Regions from separate parts of the Homo sapiens genome. Here region 2 is linked to region 1. Evidence: promoter capture Hi-C in 16 types of primary human blood cells and fetal thymus (Javierre and others, 2016). All regions are on one chromosome and are shown on one strand. Each heading gives the region's core, a stretch centred on a gene start or on the middle of the fragment in contact. The rest is flanking DNA. Distances are from core to core; before and after follow the strand shown.

Region 1 (6,468 bases), core at 1,289-3,788:
TTTCCATTTCCACCAAAAAATTGTGGAGAGTGGGGTCAAGGGGGATGTGGGGCTGGGGGAGATTGGGAAAGTTGCAGGATTAGCATAGGGACTTTAAGGACACAGATCTGCCATCTGACATTTCTACTGAATGGCATGGGGATCTGGAGATAATGGAGACAGTAAGAAGATATCATATTTTCCCCTTAAAGATGAAAAGAGGGAGGCACTTTGAGCCTCATGAGAGTCAGTATACCCAAAAAAACAAAAAGCAAAAAACCCCCAAGAGTTTATAGTTGTAAAAAAAGGTTGGTTTTTATTTTCTAGGTTTTACTAAATATGTTATAGTTCAATGAGATTTGCTTCATGTATAACCTGCAGAGAAGAGGCTTCAGATTCTGGGTCTTCTTTAATACTAAATTATCTTTATTATTTCTCAGAAAAGAGATAATTCCTTCCAATGATAATGAAATGATTTAAAATTTTTCCCATTCTCAGTCCTAGGTTATTTTTCAGGTTAATCAGCTAACATAGATGGCTTCTTTCCTTACATGACCCTGATGAGTGGTCATATTTTATAAACAAAAATCCTCCCGGCACTTTGGGAGGCCAAGGTGGGAGGATCCCTTGAGCCCAGGAGTTTGAGACCAGCCTGGGCAACATAGGGAAACCCCATCTCTATAAAAAGTTTTAAAAATTAGTTGGGTGTGATAGTGCATGCCTGTGGTCCCAGCTATGCAGACGGCTGAGGTGGGAGGATCACTTGAGCCCAAGAAGTCAAGGCTGCAGTGAGCTGTGATCGTGCCACTAAATTCCAGCCTAGATAACACAGCGAGACCCTGTCTTAGAAAATAACCCCAAAAAACAAGAAAGCAAGTACCTCACGTTAGTGTTGGTGCCAGTCCTATAATCTAATCTATATGAATTTAAATCAGCATGTTTTCTACTACGTTATCTTATCATCTTGAGTTTGCTAATTCCTGTATTCTACCAGTCTCCAACTTTGCTTAAATGCCCCTATCAGTGAAAAGAAATTATAGGGCATGCATCCTTGATAAGGATACTCATTTATAAATTATAAAAATGTACTGATCTAATAGCATAGATATGTTTAAAAGATGAAATGAGGAAAAAAAAAACGAAGTTCTAACGTTTTTTCCAAATCCCAAAGAATCATCTTCTGATACAGACCTTGACCCTATCCCATTGTTTCTAATTCCTTTAGCAATCCCATACACTCAGAGTATGACGTGCTGTCTCACACTTGTTGCTATTAATATATTCTTTTGGAATTTTTCCAGCTCTTTGTTTAGTCCCTGTGTGAACTGAAAGTAGGAATGGGACTTCTACTTTGTAAGTGCCTTATCTCACCTGGAGCATCTAGGGTACAACATCATAGAATATTGACATTGGGGCTATCCTGAATGTTTAATATAGTTAAATTGAATAAAATCACTATGTCTTATTTTGAAGCTGAGAGAAACTTACCTCTTGGAAAGAATCAATCAAATTTTCGGCATCTCTCTTTCCTCCAGGGCGCAGTCCATAGGACCAGTGCTGGCTGGAGCAGCCTTCCACGCACCAAGTCAGTAGAATAAGGCCAGCTAGGAGTTTTTGAATTGGCTTCATTCTAAGGCACATGAATGCACAATCAAATTAGATCCAGACAAGGTTGAGTATAAACTAAAAGACCTCTTTAGTGAAAAAGCTAGCATCTGTATCACTAACCCTGCAGAAGATGGAAGTCAGAGTCAGTTTTTACATACAGACACTGAAACTCAGAGACACTTGCTGGCTTGCCTTTAGTTTCTTAGCCACTGGGGACAAAATGAGTACTTAAGCTCACATGTTCAGGACCTTTTTAGTACTAAAATAGTCTATACTTTTATTTTTATTGTTTGGTTATCCAAACCCCATAATTCATCCCTTATCAAGTTCATCATTTTGCCTTAACATTTCCCCTGTTGTGGATTGGTCTTCAACTCTTTCATTCCTGAGATAAAGAGAACTGAGTCATCTGTTAAGAAAAGTAGCTCCTACTAGGAATCTCTGGCTAATATAAAATTGCTTGACATTACATGGCTACCCCATGGTACTAATGACATTTTTCTATTTATCCTTCAGTCTTCCTAGCATTACTGCTGGCTGAACCATCTGTGGGAGAGAGGACTCAACACTGTTCAAAGTAGTTAGTCCCAGACCAGATGCCTTCCTAGCCAAGGGGGCCTCTAATTTTCTAATGAAATGTGTCTCCAAGTTAATTTTCATTTGATGGGAAAGAGGCTAAAAACTAAATCAAACACTGGTCGATAAGCTGTGGGAGTCCCCAAAGCCTGGATCTCTGTGGCTGGTGATGGCAAGGACAGTGAAGGACAGGACATCATTAGATACCGTCACACCTGGATTTAGCCCTTGGGCTGTCAAATGCCCTGTAGACATACAATAGCATGCAATCTAAAGAAGAAAAACTCGTGCTAGAAATAATACAAAGCCTTTTACCTGTTTAGAGGCAGAGAGCCAAAAAGATCCCAATCTTCCCTTGAAGTAGGTTGAGTACTGTGACTTTTCTGTTTTCCTATCTTCCTTTTTATAGGGAATTTTTCCAGGACATTGAAATCTTTCCTGCTGGTAAATTATACTGCAAATGGACTATGCTTTTTTTTTTTTAATGGTAATTTTTAAAAATCCTCACATAAAGCCCTTTAATGGTGTATGTAATTGGAACACCCCCTGGTATATCTGTTAGATTTACTTAAGTGCAGCCATTAAAACCTCAGCTAAAACTTTTATAGCTGAGGACACAATTCAAAGAGATTAAAATCCAGCTAGATTGGATTCCCTTGAGGAAACCAGCAGACCTATCAAGAGTTCAAGGAAAATAGATGTCTTAGATTAAGTGAAGTCAAATGCATACATAACTTCCACAAAGGAGGCTATACAACAAATATAGGACATTGAGTCAGGATGTCTGGGAGCTTCTGGCTCTTGGATTCTTCATTTGTAAAAGGAAGGGTGTAGACTAGATGGACTAGATGATCACAGAGTTGCTTCCAATTTTAAAAATCTGATTTACAAGTAAGTGACACTATATACCAAGTCCATGTAGGATCCTAAATCAGACAGTTGTGTGTTTGAAAATTCCCTCATCTACCCACCAGGTTCCCTGCTTGACTTACCTTGAAAGCCTTCTAAAGCATCAAAAAGGCAAGAAACATATTCTGAGAGCAAGACCATATTGAGCAGACTTACATCAACAGATCAACTCATTTCAGTAGATGCTTATTGAGTTAAATATGCAAATCACTCTTAAGGGCAGTGGGAACAGAAAGATGAGAAATTATAGTTATTTAATAAATAGCAAATGTATAAGAGCATTCATTACAATAGCCATGCAAAGTGGGTATCATTATCTAAATTTTATAGATGTTCCACCCCAGAGGTGCAACCGTGGACGTGTTATTTACACAGGACAAGCATGTAAAATACACACACAACCATTACTCTTAATTACATTTATTTGAATACATGGTTGTCTTCCCCTAATTTACCCCTAGGCTGAAACCTGTAATAGTCAAAGATCCCATCTTATTTAAATCTCTCTTAATAAACCCCCGGCATTTAGTGAGCATTCAGTAAGTATAGGTTTGAATGAATGAATGAACGAATGAATGAATAGAAAGCAAAAAGCTTTTAACCAGGTAAGGCCTAATGCTGCCTCTATTTCTGCATCAAAGATATGCTTTATCTGACACAGAATTAAACTTTCATGTATAATTGGCTGTAAATCCTGTTATATTAGCTAAGCTGTAAGATGGCTAAAAAAAATAACTGGATATTTGTTCATTTTACAGCTGGGAATGGCAATTTCCCCTCATGTAGGATGCTAAACCCATCAGTCATTGCACAGTCTCCTCTGGAATAACTACATTTGCAGGGATTTCAGAGTAAAGAGAAATGGTGTCTTACCTAAGTAAATTCCCTTGCTTTGTCCAGCCATCTCTGTGGAGGCTGTCCAGTCCTCATGATAGGATAGAGAAGGGAGTACACTTTAAAGTATAACTGCAAATAGAGGAGAATTTAAAAATAAAATGTAAGTATTTGACTTTGTTCCATTTAAATTATTTCATTTAGACACTTTGACTCATGTAAGTGCCATTCTGACATGAAGAGTGGAATCTCATCTCACTACAATATGCAAGTAGGGACAGACTGTTTTTCAACCAGAGTTCATTATGGTTGAATAGTGCTAGTTTAAATTGTCCAATTGGTTTGTGTTTGCTGAGAGATGTGCCTCTAAGTATTGCTTAAGTAGAAAATGTGGTCTCTGGATAGGACTAATGAAATGAGAGTTAAGACTTGTGATGCATATTGTCAGGTGAATCACTTATCTCTGGGTAGGTAGGCCTCACTGGATTTCTTGTAGGTTATTTCTAACAGTTGGGATTAAATTTTTGAAAAATGTTTTGAAATTATTAAGATGAACACAGCAATATTGTATTACTCAGCATTCTCTAGAGGGACAGAATACATACACACACACACACACACACAAACACACGCACATAGGAGAGTTTATTAAGTATTAACTCACACGATCCCAAGGTCCCACAGTAGGCCGTCCGCAAGCTGAGGAGCAAGGAAAGCCAGTCTGAGTCCCAAAGCTGAAGAACTTTGAGTCCAATGTTCGAGGGCAGGAAGCATCCAGCACAGGAGAAGGATGTAGGCTGGGAGGTTAGGCCCATCTAGACTTTTCACGTTTTTCTGCCTGCTTTATATTTGCTGGCAGCTGATTAGATGGTGCCCACCCAGATTAAGGGTGGGTCTGCCTTCCCCAGCCCACTGACTCAAATGTTAATCTCCTTTGGCGACACCTTTATAGACACACCCAGGATCAATACTTTGCATGCTTTGATCCAATCAAATTGATATTCAGTATTAACCATCACAAATATGGTCTATGAATTCATCCAATATGCTGTTGTCCTTAAAGTCTCCATTAGCATTGTCTTAGGTCACACAGATCTCAAGGCAAGAGTCAACTTTGTTTTGTCTTACTTTCTATAGCACCAAATAGGTTATCAAGCCACTATGCAATTAATGAGTTTTTGATATTGAATGACAAACTTAAAACCATTTAAGGATTCCATGGTTAGGTCAGTTTATCAAAAAGTTAAATATAATAAATTGGGTTTAAATAATTGGATTTTATATTTGTCATATTTTTTTCTAAATTTGAAAGAATGGCTTTAGAGAAAAAACTGCTTCATCAACATCAAAACACCTCAAAATTATTACAGCGATGATCTCATAATATCACTGAAATGACAGATGAAAAAAATCTTTTCTTGCCCTAATGTAAAATCTCAGCAGGAAGCACTTAAGGTTAACTCCTGCTGACATGTCTAATCAGGTTGTAAAAGGGTTTCAGAGAATTAATCCTTGGATAAGGTGCTTTATACTGAAATAATGTAACCACTTTTCTTTGTAGTAATGAACCTTTTAATTTTAAAGGTAATTCTTCCTTGGGGACTTACTTAGTGCAATTCTAAGTTTTTTCCATATATTAAAGATGATTTAAAGTTGACATAGGGCAGATTTACAGTACACATAAGAGTCATAAAATGAAATGGAGAAAATATTCCAAGTCTTGATTTATGATTGAACCCTTCATAAGAATAATTAATTTACAACATTTTCTACCAGAATTTCCTTGAGACTATAGTTGAAAGAACTAGACTACAATAGATAGTATTGCTTAGTTGAGTACCAAATTTTATTAATGCAGATAATCCAGCTAGTTTAATTTTGATTTAAAACCTTTTTCCTGTCATCCCAACAGCTGTATTTTTACCTATGTGTACAGACATGTTTCATCTCTAGGGTTAATGGAAGTTTTACTATTTTAACGGTTTCTTCCCTCCTTAAAATTCTCTATCCTAGTTATCAGGCAAAAAATGTTTTGGGGCATGCTATTTATCCAGTCTAATAAAGCTAACTGGTAATATTCATCACCTAAAGAGTGATGAATTTAACACAAACAAATTAAACGAATTATTGGGGAGGCAGTCTTTTCTTTTGTTCAGAATTCATAAGGTTTGTGTTGTTAGCATGGTGTATTTTTAAAAGAATGATAAAAATAATCATGTTTAAAGAAATAAATTTACTTTAATGGTACTTTCAAAAAGACTAATCCATAACAAATTAAGTTATACTGTATTTCCTTTGCTACCCAGAACCACAGGGCTGGTTGTCAACACATATTGAAGAAATGTAAGCAAAATACAGAAAGTGATGATTTTCAAAAGGAAGAGAAGAAACTCCTTTTCAACAAACACTTTATATCATTTATTAATGCAGTATACATTAGATCTAAAATCTGCAGTTTCTAAGCACACCATGTTTAGATCTTTCAGATCCTTCTGCAGTTTTAGGTTATTTCTACAGAGGTACCTTTAAGTGAATGAATACCACATTCTGTAATTCCTGAAA
Region 2 (6,468 bases), core at 1,078-3,577, 680 kb after region 1:
TATCAACCAATTTGACTTAATTGACTTTTATAGAAGCGTATACCTTATAACCACTTAACGTATATGTGTATTTGTCAAGTGCATATGGAATGTTCAGATAGAACACTTACTGGGCCATAAAATAAGTGTCAACAGTTTCAAAAGATTGAAATACAGAACATGTTCTATGACCACAATGAAATTAAAATTAAGAATAAATAACAATGAGATATCTAGAAAACTCCTAAGTATTGGAAATTAAACAGCATATTCTCAATGACCAAATAAGATAATGAAATAAGTTTTAAAATTTTTTAACTAAATGATAATGAAAACACAACATATAAAAACTTGTGAGATATAGCTAAAGCACTGATTCCCGGGAAATTTGAAGACTTATATTAGAAAACAAGAAAAGTTTAAAATTAATGAGCTATGTTTCCATCCTCAGAAGCTAGAAGAGCAAATTAAATGCAAAACAAGTGATATGGTTTGGCTGTGTTCCCACCCAAATCTCATCTTGAATTGTAGCTCACATAATCCCCACGTGTGGTAGGGACCTGGTGGGAGGTAATTGAATCATCAGGGTGGGTCTTTCCTGTGCTGTTCTTAAAGTGAATAAGTCTCATGAGATTTAATGGATTTTTAAAGTTCAGTTCCCCTGCACACGCTCATTTGCCTGCCACCATGTAAGACATGACTTTGCTCCTCCTTTGTCTTCCACCATGATTGTGAGGCCTCCCTAAACATCTGGAACTGTGAGTCCATTAAACCTCTTTTTCTTTATAAATTAATCGGTCTTGGGTATGTCTTTATTAGCAGCATGAGAACAGATGAATACAACAAGTATAAATAGGGAAATAATAAAGAGCAGAAATTAATGAAATGAAAAGTAGGAAAAAAAGGAAGCCAAAATTTGGTTATTTGAAATATCAATAAGATTAATAAATCTCTATCGAGATTGAGTAAGAAAATTAGAAAAAAGACACAAGTTACTACCAGCAATGAAAAAAGAGAGGACACTATAAGATTTCAGAGATAATAAAGTGATAAGAAAATGTTATTAATGGCTAAATGACAACAAATTTGACAACTTATAGGAAGTGGACAAATTCCTTGAAAAATATGACTCACCAAAACAGACACAAGAAGATATAGAAAGAATGGCTTGATATCACTGAAATTGAATTTGTGATGAAAATTCTTTCTACAAAGAAAACTCTAGGCCCAGATAATTTGGTAAACTTAAGCAATTAATGCTAGTCTTAACAGCTTTTTCAGCCAGAGGGAACACTTCACCGCACATTTGGTGAGGCCAGCATAGCACTGATACTAAAACCTAAAAAAAAGTCATTGAAAGCAAAGAAAATCATAGGCTAATATCCAACATACATTCCACGAAAATAAAATTACAGACCAGGATTTTTTAGACATTAGCAAGTAGAAGACAGAAATATAAGAAAAGGATAATACCTCATGACCAAGTGGGGTTTATCCCAGGAATATAAAGAAGTTTAACATTCAAAAATTAATATACTCCTTCACATAAGGATAAAGGAGATATCATACAAACATGAAACAAAAGAAACTTGGAATGGCTACACTAAAATGAGACATGGTAGATTTCAGAACAAGGACTATTACTAGAGGGAAAAAAATTCATATTAATAAAGAGAACTACTTATCATTCAGTTGTAAAAAAATCTTAAATGTGTTTGCACCAAAGAGATATTTCAAAATAAACGAAGCAAAAAACAAAACAACAACAACATAAAAACCCTCAAAAGATTGAAAGAAGAAATCCACAATTAGAGAAAAAGAGTTGATTATTTTTTCTTCAGTCATTACTAGAGCAACTTCATGGAAAAATTATTGAAGAGATAAAAGACTTGAAAAACACTATGTAGCAATTTAATCAATTTACATTTATACAACATTTCACCCAACCACAAAAGAATATACGTTTTTGTTTAAGTGCACCTGAAACATTCACAAAGATAGAACATATGCTGGGCTATAATACAAGTTTCAACAAATTTTAAAGATTAAAACCATACTGAATATATTCTCTAACCACAACAGAAAAGAAAATGAAAATCAGTAACAGGAAGATATCTTTTAAATCTCAAATGCATAGTTAATAAACTAAATGAAAATGAAATCACAAGGCACAAAACTTGTGGGATGCATCTAAAGCAGTGCTCCAAGGGAGTTTTGAAACTTTAAATGCTATTTTGGAAGACAAAAAAAAGGGTATATGATCAACGGTCTAAGCTTCCATCTTAAGAAGCTAGAAAAAAGAAGAACAAATTCAACCCAAAGTAAGTATAAGGAATAGAATATAAAAAAGCAGAAATCAATGAAATAGAAACAGAAGAATAGTACAGAAAAAAATCAATAACAGCAAAACTGATTCTCTTTTATAAGCTTAATAAAGTTGATAAATCACGTACAAAAATTAAAAATATAGAAAGGATAATAACTTAATAAATTCGACAACTTAGATAAATGGAACAAATTTCTTAAAAGATAAAAATTACCAAAACAGTTTCAAATGGAAATAGAGTATCTGTATAGCCCTATATATAAAAGAAATTGAATTCAAAATTTTAAAATTACAAAGAAAACTCCAGGCCTGCATGGCTTCCTAGGTGAATTATGTTAAACATTTACAGAAGAAATAATGCCAATCTTTCATAGGCTTTTCTGGGAAATAGAAGAGAAGCAGATATATCCTAATCATTCAATGAGGATAGTATCACCCATATACCAAAATCTGACAAAGATTTCATAACAACAGGAAACTACAACCTATCCCTCATTAACTTAGATGCAAAATCATCAACAAAATATGCAAAAAAATCCAAAAAACAAGGCCAGCAATATATTACAAGAATAATATGTTATGAGTAAATGACATTTATTTCAGGAATGCAAAGTTGGTTTAATGATTTAAAAGAGTCAAGTTGCAAGGAGTCTCAAATAGCCGAAACAATCCTAAAAAAGAAGATAAAGTTGGAAAGCTCACACTTTCTGTTCAAAAATTATTACAAAGCTACAATAATTAAAACTATATAACAGTGGCACAAGGACAGACATAGGGACCAACAGAATAAAACAGCCCAGAAATAAACCCTCACATATATGTTTATTGATGTTCAACAAGGGTGTCCAAACATTTAATGGGGTAAGACAGTCTTTTGAACAAAGGGTGTTGGGAAAACTAGATATCCGTATGCAAAAGAATGAAATTGGATTCTTACTAGACACCATATATAAAAAATGATCCAGAATGAATCACAGACCTAAAATTAAGAGTTAAAACTGTAAGACTCTTAGAAGAAAACACAGAGTAAATCATCATGACCTTGAATTTGGCAGTGGATTCTTAGATATGACACCAAAAGCACAGGCAATAAAAGAAAAAATAGATAAACTGTACTTCAATTAAGTTAAGAAGTTTAGTGCATCAAAAGATACTATCAAGAAAGCAAAAAAGACAATCTACTGAATGGGGGAAAATGTTTTATCAGATAAAGTATTAATTTCCAAATTATATAAACAACTCAACAAAAACCACAAAAATAACCCAATTCAAAAATGGGCAAAGGATTCATATAGACGTTTCTCCAAAGAAGATGTGCAAATGACCAATAAACACATGAACTGATACTCAACATCATTGGTCGTTAGAGAAATGCAAATCAAAACCTCAATGAGATAACATTTCACACCTACTAGAGTGGCTGTAATTTTTAAATTTTAAGAAAAAAAACAGAAAATAATAAGTGTTGGCGAAGATGTAGATAACATTGGAAACCTTGTATTTCTGGTAGGAAAGAAAAATGGTGCAGCCACTGTGGGAAACAGCTGGGCGGTTTCTCAAAAGGTTAAACATGGAATCATCATATGACTCAGCAATTCTACTCCTAGGTATATATCCAAAGAATTGAAAGCAGAGACCTGAACAGATTTATAGATATAGATATACAGATAGATAGAGGTGAGATAGAGATAGAGATAGAGATAGAGATAGAGATAGAGATAGAGATAGAGATAGAGATAGAGATGATATAGGATTCTTTTTTTGAGACGAAGTCTTGTTCTGTTGCCCAGGCTGGAGTGCAGTGGTGCAATCTCAGCTCACTGCAACCTCCATCTCCCTGCTTCAAGTGATTCTCCCACATCGGCTTCCCCAGTAGCTGGGATTACAGGTGCCCGCAATCATGTTCAGCTACTTTTTGTATTTTTAGTAGAGATGGGGTTTCACTGTGTAGGCCAGGCTGGTCTCGAACTCCTAACCTCAAGTGATCCTCCTGCCTTAGCCTCCCAAAGTGCTGGGATTACAGGCATGAGCCACTGCATCTGGCCTGAACAGATATTTACACAGCAATGTTCACAGCAGCATTAATCACAATAGACAAAATGTGGAAACAGTGTTAAGTATCCATCAACAGATGAATGGATAAACAAAATACAGTATTAATTACAGTATGTTTGTATAGTGGCATATATTTAACTATAAAAAGACAAAACTTTTATATATGCTATAACATGGATGGATTGGACCTCGAAAACGTTATGCTTACTGAATTAAGCCAAATATAAAAAGACAAATACTGTATTACTCCACTTAGAATAGGTATCTAGAATGGCAAATTCATAGCTATAGATAAAAATGTGAGGTATAGATAGTAGTGATGGTTACACAACATTGTGAATATACTTAATGCCACTAAATTGTACACTTCAAAAAACATGAAATACTTGAAGATAAGTATGCACAAAATATGGATAAAACCTACACAATGAAAACCTTAAAACACTGCTGAGATAAATTAAGGACCTAATAATTGGAGGGTTATGCCATATCATAAATTTTAAAACTAAATATTGCTATGATGTAAATTATCCCCAAGATGATCTACATGATATAATGCAAATCCAATAAAAATGTCAGCAGACTTTTTTGTAAAAATTGATAAGTTAATTCCAAAGTTTATGTGGAAATGGAAAAGACTAGAATAGCCAAAACTATTTTGAAAAACAAGAACAAAATTTGAAGGTTTACAATAACTGACTTTAAATCTTGCCATAAGCTTCAGTAATCAAGACAATGTGTTATGAGCATAAGGATAGACACAGAGGCTGGGCGCGGTGGCTCACGCCTATAATCCCAGCACTTTGGGAGGCCAAGGAGGGTGGATCACTTGAGGTCAGGAGTTCGAGACCAACCTGGCCAACATGGCAAAACCCTGTCTCTATTAAAAATACAAAAATTAGCCAGGCATGGTGGCACATGCCTGTTGTCCCAGCTACTCAGATAGCCGAGGCACAAGAATCGCTTGAACCCAGGAGGCAGAGGTTGCAGTGAGCTGAGATCGCACCACTGCACTCCAGCCTGAGCAACAGAGCAAGACCCTGACTCAAAACAAAACAAAACAAACAAACAAACAAACAAAAAAGAATAAAGACCAGTGGACAGAACAAGAGAACAGAAATAGACCTACACACGTATAGTCAATTGATTTTCTACAGACGTCTCAAGATAATTCAATGCAGGAGAAATAGTCTTTGCAACAAATTGTGCTGGAACATCTAAACAGCTGTACGAGAAAAATAAAATAATCTTGACCCATACTTTACATCATGCACAAAACCTGAGCTGGAACATAGCGCTACACATAAAAACTAAAACTATAAATCTTTTAGAAGAAAACGTGATCTGGTAGTTGGCAAAGATTTTACACAGGACACAAGAAATCCATACAGCAAGTCCTCAGATAATGTTGTTTCATTCAACATCACTTTGTTATAACATTGATGAGAAAAAAAAAAAAAAACTGATTCCCGGCCAAGGCCACTGCCTATGTGAAGTTTGCACATTCTTCCCCTGTCTGTGTGGATTTTCTCTGGAAACGCCGGTTTTCTCCCACATCCCAGAGAAGTGCACTCGGGTTCACTGCTGTGCCTAGATTGTCCCAGTCTGAGTGAGTGAGAGTGAGCGTAGGAGGGTGGGTGGGAGTGTGTGAGTGCACCCTGCAATGGAATGCTATCCTGTCTGTCCACCCTGAGCTGCCTGGATAGGCTCCAGCCACCTACGACCCTGAGCTAGAATAAGTGGGTTGGAAAATAAATAAAGGAATGAATACAAATTATTGTAAAACAAAAATTCAGGCCGCACACAGTGGTTCACGCCTGTAATCCCAGCACTTTGGGAGACCGATGCAGGCGGATCACTTGAGGTCAGGAGTTTGACCAGCCTGACCAACATGGGGAAACCCCTTCTCTACTAAAAATACAAAAATTAGCCAGGCACGGTGGCACGTGCCTGTAATCCCAGCTACTAGGGAGGCTGAGGCAGAGGTTTCAGTGAACCGAGATTGCACCACTGCACTCCAGCCTGGGCAACAGAACAAGACTCCATCTCAAAAAAAAAAAAAAAAATTCATGAAGTCTGTGATCGTTATACAAATGCATGACAAACAA

Evidence for each region. Contacts are between HindIII fragments. The CHiCAGO score rates a contact against its expected background, and 5 or more counts as called.
Region 2: a fragment that was not itself captured here is called in contact with the fragment with the promoter of GNRH1 in region 1 in 1 of 17 cell types (total CD8 T cells); the score reaches 5.2 in total CD8 T cells.

What each region holds. Positions count from the first base shown.
Region 1 is chr8:25,421,723-25,428,190 of GRCh38, forward strand. GNRH1 (gonadotropin releasing hormone 1) reads right to left here and starts at 2,539. Exons shown (of 4, transcript NM_001083111.2): 1 at 2,479-2,539; 2 at 1,468-1,609. The coding sequence starts at 1,608. KCTD9 (potassium channel tetramerization domain containing 9) reads right to left here. Exons shown (of 12, transcript NM_017634.4): 12 at 6,125-6,468. The HindIII fragment of the contact is 12,746 bases long and covers 1-3,664 here.
Region 2 is chr8:26,099,275-26,105,742 of GRCh38, forward strand. No RefSeq gene overlaps it. Among named protein-coding and RNA genes, the nearest start is that of EBF2, 57 kb to the left of the region's middle. The HindIII fragment of the contact is 153 bases long and covers 2,252-2,404 here.